Regions from separate parts of the Homo sapiens genome. Here region 2 is linked to region 1. Evidence: promoter capture Hi-C in 16 types of primary human blood cells and fetal thymus (Javierre and others, 2016). All regions are on one chromosome and are shown on one strand. The core of a region is centred on a gene start or on the middle of the fragment in contact, and the rest is flanking DNA. Distances in the headings are between cores, read along the strand shown.

Region 1 (3,286 bases), core at 217-2,716:
CATTTTTATGCCCCCTCACACACAAATAACATACATGTTACCCTGTAATACACACATATGTCCCACTGTTGTTAATCCTGAATTATAACTAAAATATGCAACTGTGAGTTCTGACTTTATTATCCAGGCATAATATGCTAAATATTGGCATTTCTTCATATATAAAGGGCCCAGAAGATAACGGCAGGTCACGATTTTTAAATGGACATGTCCTTAACTCACGTTGTGGGACTTCAATGATAGCTGGCCGCTTCAATCCGATGGCTACATCACGGGACCACTGACTTTGCAGTTGGTACTGACAGAGGAAAGGCATGAGGAAAAGAGGTAGGAGCTGTCGCCAGAACTCTGCCAAGGATGGGATGAAGAACTCTGATAGGAGGACCACACCGTAGGTTAACAAGTGGAGACACAGCCGGAGGAGGATACAGGGTAGCTCGTTACCAGGTCCAACATTTTTCAACCCTCGTTCTGGAGTGGTCATAACCAGGGATTTAATATAGAACACAGAGGACATTAGGTTATAGCTGCCTAGGGATCTTAGTTCTTCATTGGCAAAATGGAAACAGCACTTAGGCTATCGGCTGCCTAGCCGCTTTTTTTTTGAGACTCGGCTCACTGCAACCTCCGCCTCCCGGGTTCAAGCGATTCTCCTGCCTCAGTCTCCCGAGTAGCTGGGACTACAGGCGTGCGCCACCACGCCCAGCTAAATTTTTTTGTATTTTTAGCAGAGACGGGGTTTCACCATGTTGGTCAGGACGGTCTCTTGACCTCGTGATCCGCCCGCCTCGGCCTCCCAAAGTGCTGGGATTACAGGCGTCCTAGCCGCTTTTTAAAAACCCTTCCCCCTTTATTTGTACGGCAATTTGTATTTTCAAAGTGCGTTCACCTCGCATGCGCCCTCCTAACCACGAGGTGAGGAAAAGCAGGCCAGAAGCCCACCTCCAAACTCCCATTTCCTCGAAGAGAAAACTGAGGCTCGGACAAGATCTGTGCGCGAACGCCGAATGGATGGCCCTGGGGCCGATGCTCTCTCACTAAGAAAAGGCCTCCGAGACTGCCCAAGCTTCCTGCCCGGGTTCGGAATCTTATAGACCCGCAAAACTGCAAATGCGCTAACAGTCCTAAAAACGTCCACGTTGCCAGCTCTGAATTGCAAACGCCGGCAGCAGAACCGTTTAATCACAAGGTAAACGGAGAGTCGCCGCAGCTCGGCTGCCTCCTCACTGGCAAACCCAGGGCAGGCCGCGACCCGCAGGGCCAGGCTGAACCCGGCGGCCGACCCAACGCCGCTGCTGTAGCTACCTGGACGCCATGCACGATGTACACCTTCTCCGCCTCGCTCAGCGTCACGGACGCCATGCTGCCGAGCTGCCCCACGAGCCGCACGTCATCTGCGCGCGTCCCCTCCTCTGGACCGCGCCCCCACGTCCCACCCCCCCCCGCCCCGCGTCAGCGCGTCATCAACCTGCGCGGCGGCCGCTCCTGCAGCCGCGGCCGCCGCCACTGCCGGGAGAGCTCGATGGGCTTCTCCTGCGCGCCGCCCGGTGTCTGGCCGAGTCCAGAGAGCCGCGGCGCCTCGTTCCGAGGAGCCATCGCCGAAGCCCGAGGCCGGGTCCCGGGTTGGGGACTGCAGGGGAAGGCAGCGGCGGCGGCGGCGGGAGCCCCACCGGGGTCTGGGACTGGGGAACTGCCTCCGGCTTCACGGTCAGTTGGGAAGGGAAACTGGGGTAGGGGTGAAGAAGCTGGGGTGAGGCGAGCCTCACGGGCCGGGGGACTCCCAGTGGGAGAGGCGTGCGGCGTAGTTGCTCAGAGCTGGAGTTGACTTAGGAGCGTGTGTGTGTGTGTGTGTGTGTGTGTGTGTGTGAGAGAGAGAGAGAGAGAGAGAGAGACCCCGACTAAGGAGGGGCGGACGTCGTGATTGGCCCGGGGGTGCTGTTTCCCTGCTCTTCTCCCCTCCATTTCTCTAGTCCCTAGGATGGCTGGAGAGGCGATGCAGCCCTCCCTAGGTAGTTCTTGGTGGGAAGGGTCCGGGAATGGGGGACACTAGTCCTAAGGCGTCCCCACCCCTCCACCCAGGAATATCTCTCGCTGGCTCGCTCACTCTCTGTGACCGAACGCTGTCCCATTACCTTGCTGGGACCTCTTGCCTCGGGTGCTTACCAGAGCGTTGTCCCACAGACGGGGGAGGAGGCGCTTGGTAACCGGCACTGGCGAGGTGCGCAGTGCCCGGACGTCCCCAACGCTTCCTAGCGGGAACTGGAAACCCCGGCTTGATGGAAGTGATTACTGGGAGCTGTGAGCAGTTGCCCGAAAAAAAGCCAACCCCAACCCCTTGCGATGGCCGAGTGGGAGTATGGGCATTGGATACCCGGAGAGGATATCTGCAAGGTGAAGCTGGGGTCACCAAAGGAACTCATTAAGGCGGGGCTGACAAAGTATGGTGCAAGTTTTAAAGGAGCCGTGTGGATAAATGGGAGAAAGTTAACCCAAATTAGTTGAAGCAAGGAGGGCAGGTTAAAGCAATTCTGATGACTTTCCTGATGTTCCATTTTTGAGGACCCTCAGCCAAAAAAAAAAAAAAATGGTATTTATCAGATAGTGGGTTCAAATACAGTTTCAGATAACTATTGGGAGCCTACTATAGATAGGCTTTGTGCTACCTTTAGAACACAAGACAAGTAAAACATACTATGCCCAGAGAAGTTCCCTGGGCAGATGAAGGCTCCAGGGCCAACATAACCACAGATCATGGTGGTTAGAGCTATGATGGTCGCATCAGTGGGCACAGTGGGATTGGGAGGTCGTCTGATAAGGTTATAGAGAGGAAGTGCTTGCTCACATTCTTAAGCATTAAACTGCTGAGCTCCAAAATTGATGATCAGTTCTTCGTAGACTGGACATTAGATGTTTCTTATGTCTCTACGTAATTCTCCACAGGGGCACCTAAAAGGAAGACAGCTTGCAGGGTTGGACTTTGCCTTCCAGGGAAACTGAAAGAGGTGAAGCCGGAAGGATTTCCTCCCTAATGAAGGCACAGGTGCCCCACCTGTTGTGGCACTTAGATGTGTTTGTGTGTGGTTGGACGGCTGGGTTTTATGTGAGGAGCTCTGTTGTGATAAGATAACATGAGATTGCTGATGTTATAAATGATATTTTCTAGATGTGCTAGAGATTGCTCAGAAAGGAGAGACCCTGGAAGTGGGATTTTAGAAGCTAGGATATCTGAGGAGACTGAGGATTTAAGAGGTGACAGCAAATGGACAGATCAGAAAGACACAGGAAG
Region 2 (3,533 bases), core at 636-3,135, 720 kb before region 1:
AAATTGCTGATGCTGCCATCAGGCTATTCTGATAATGTCACTGAAAGTGGTATCTCTAGGCTTAAGAATTGGAGCAATGAAAATGTGAACAGTGACTGCCAGGGAATCAACATTTCTAGGGATGCTCATTAGAAGTAATGACTCACAATTCTGTTAACCATAACAGCAGGTATCATCCTAACTCACGGCACCTACATATATGCCCTTACTGTTCTCTTCCTCTCATTTCCCACCACTTTTGTATTGGTCTTAATACTGATCTGAAGCATAATTGTTTTATGTAATAAATTTTATTCTATGTTTTATGCTTCCTGGGCTTCATTTCAAAAGCCAGTGAAATTAACTTTAACTCTCTAGCATTTAAACCGTCAAAAACAATTAAGTAAACATTCAGTGGTATAATTTTTCCTGGTGTGTATTGTTTTATTGCTATTTTTGTGTTTAAATCTTTACCAAACAAGCTATCATATTACTTATTTTATGAAATGGATTTCGGAAGACAAGATTCGATCCAAGAAGATTATTTGGTCATTATCTATACTGTTGATAACAGATCTCTAAGGTTCAAAGTAATACTGTATACTAAAAAGGGTTCTGGTCCTATATAAACTATCTGGTGAGGTGATTAGCCTCCAATTCACTATTAACTCTAACTGAACAAGAATCCTACCAAATATCTGTCAAGACAAGGGGATCCCATACCTACCCAGAGTTCTGGTTCCCATTAATAAGACACATACTATGGAAGATATATCAAAATAGCATAATACTTGTATAATAATTGCTCCTATTTTGACTACCTTCATTCAGTTCGTCATTTTGCTTTTAAGGATTACTGTCCAAGCATGGCATAAAAAAGAAAAAGTGGTTGGATACAGTGCTCATGCCTGTAATCCTAGCACTTTGGGAGGCTGAGGCAGGAGGACTGCTTGAGCCCAGGAGTTTGAGACCAGCCTGGGCAACATGGCAAAACCCCGTTTCTACAAAAAATGCAAAAATTAGCCAGGTGTGGTGGTATGCACCTGTGGCCTCAGCTATTCAGGAGGCTGAGGTCGGAGGATCACTTCAACCTGGGAGGCAGAGGCTGCTCTGAGCCAAGATCGCACCACTACACTCCAGCCTGGGCAACAGAGCAAGAGCCTGTCTTAAAAAAAAAAAAAAAAAAAAAAAAAGGAAAAGAAAAGAAAAACAAAGCAGGAGGATCTTGAGGCCAGGAGTTTGAGACCAGCCTGGTCAACACAGCGAGATCTCATCTCTACAAAAAATGTTGAAATAAAAAAAAAAGAAAGAATCAACACTTAGGTTGCTTCCTCCTTTTTGACTGTTGTGAATAATGCTGCTATGAACAGGGGTATACAAATCCCTCTTTGAGACCTTACTTTTAATTATTTTGAGTATCCCAGAAGTGGAACTGGGACTAAAAGCTAAATGCAACAAAGGCAGTTCTGGTATTACACTTAATACAAATGCATTTAATCTTATAGTCACCTGGGATTCAACAGCTCTTAAGAGTGTTTTTTAAAAAATTAGTCTTGTTAAATTTTAAGAAAAGCAATATCTTTAATTATAATATTAACATCAAATATTTTTATTTTCTTTCAGTGTTGGCATTGCGATTTTCTAGTGTCTGAAAACATTTATCTCTCATGTAACATTCACGTCTTATTTCAGACAACTGATCTCTTTAAAATCCTGTCAAATCAATGAGTAAAACTGGCCCACTACAAAAACATTACTACTTACCAACCTCATACCCATTAAAATGGCTATTATCTAGAAGGAAAAAAAAAACAAACCCAGGATAGAAAATAACGAGTGTTGGCTAGGATGCGGAGACACTGGAATCCTGGTGCTTTGTGGGTGGGAATGTAAAACGGTGCAGCCACTATGGGAAAACAGTATGGTGGCCCATTAAAAATTAAAAATAGAATTCCCATATGACCCAACAATTCCACTTCCGGGTATATACTCAAAATAACTGAAAGTAGGGTTTCAAAAAGGTATTTGTATACTCACATTCATACTGGCATTACTCACAATAGCCAAAAAGGTGGAAGCCACCTATGTGTCTATTAACAAATGAACAAACGAAATGTGGTACATACATATAATGGAATATTATTCAGCCTTAGAAAGGAAATTCTGGGCCAGGCACAGTGGCTCAGGCCTGGAATCCCAACACTCAGGGAGGACGAGGCAGGCGGATCACGAGGTCAGGAGATGGAGACCATCCTGGCAAATGCAGTGAAACCTTGTCTCTACTAAAAATACAAAACAGTAGCTGGGCGTGGTGGCAGGCACCTGAAATCCCAGCTACTTAGGAGGCTAAGGCAGGAGAATTGCTTGAACCCAGGAGGCAGAGGTTGCAGTGGGCCGAGATCGCACCACTGTACTCCAGCATAGGCAACAGAGCGAGACTCCATCTCAAAAAAAAAAAAAAAAAAGGAAATTCTGACACATGCTACACAATGGATGAACCTTAAGGACATTATGCTAAGTGAAATAAACCAGTCATAAAAGGACAAATACTGCCACTTCATGAGGCATCTAGAGAAGTCAAATTTATAGAGACAGAAAGTAGAACGGTGGTTGCCAGGGGCTGGGAGGATACAGAAATGGGGAGTTGTTTAATGGGTACAGAGTTTATTTTTGCAAGATGAAAACGGTTCTGGTGATGGATGGTGATAACGGTTGTACAACATGAATGTGCTTATTGCCCCTGAACTGTATACTTAAAAATGGTTGAGATGGTAAATTTAATGTTTTATTTTACCACAATTTTTAAAAATAATGAAACCACTATTTTGCATAGGAGCCACAGTGATATGTCATAAAACTGTAGCAAGAACATATTCCCTCAAAAATCTTACGTAAAGAATTTGGCTGGGTGCAGTGGCTCATGCCTGTAATCCCAACACTTTGGGAGGCCGAGGCAGGTGGATCACTTGAGGTCAGGAGATCAAGACCAGCCTGGCCAACATGGTGAAACTCTGTCTCTACTAACAATACAAAAATTAGCCGGGCCTGGTGGTGCATGCCTGTAGTCCCAGCTACAAGGGAGGCTGAGGCACAAGAATCACTTGAACCTGGGAGGTGGTGGTTGTGGTGAGCCGAGACTGCGCCACTGCACTCCAGCCTGGGCAACAGAGTGAGACCCCATCTCAAAAAAAAAAAAGAATTAAATCAAGGTCTTAATGATCAAATTTAATACATCTCTGGTTGAAAAGACAGAGGCACAACACTTTACTAGGTTTGGTGAGCAAAAAGAAAACAACTTAGTAAAGAAGGATCCCCTGCACATACTACACTCATAGGCAGAAGGTGCTCCTACCTCCCCCATTCATCCTCCCTTTGGGTATCTCCTCACTGAGCCCTCCCTGGTTGCCTCTCCTATAGCTCAAGTTCATCACAGACTCCCCAGGGGCACAACCCAATTCCAAACCAGTTGGTGTTTCTAGAAAGACTCATTCTAATGCTATCCTCTTTCTCAAAACTCTGTGTTCCCACCTATATCCTATTCCCTGAATGCCCTA

The links. Contacts are between HindIII fragments. The CHiCAGO score rates a contact against its expected background, and 5 or more counts as called.
Region 2: a fragment that was not itself captured here is called in contact with the fragment with the promoter of ZDHHC3 in region 1 in 1 of 17 cell types (fetal thymus); the score reaches 5.3 in fetal thymus.

What each region holds. Positions count from the first base shown.
Region 1 is chr3:44,974,354-44,977,639 of GRCh38, reverse strand. ZDHHC3 (zDHHC palmitoyltransferase 3) reads left to right here and starts at 1,466. Exons shown (of 7, transcript NM_001135179.2): 1 at 1,466-1,707. EXOSC7 (exosome component 7) reads right to left here and starts at 1,396. Exons shown (of 8, transcript NM_015004.4): 1 at 1,306-1,396. The coding sequence starts at 1,362. RefSeq lists silencers at 1,430-1,499, 1,620-1,719 and an enhancer at 1,942-2,486. The HindIII fragment of the contact is 4,817 bases long and covers 1,069-3,286 here.
Region 2 is chr3:45,694,909-45,698,441 of GRCh38, reverse strand. The region is part of intron 1 of SACM1L (SAC1 like phosphatidylinositide phosphatase); the gene reads right to left. Among named protein-coding and RNA genes, the nearest start is that of SACM1L, 7.3 kb to the right of the region's middle. The HindIII fragment of the contact is 5,170 bases long and covers 1-3,533 here.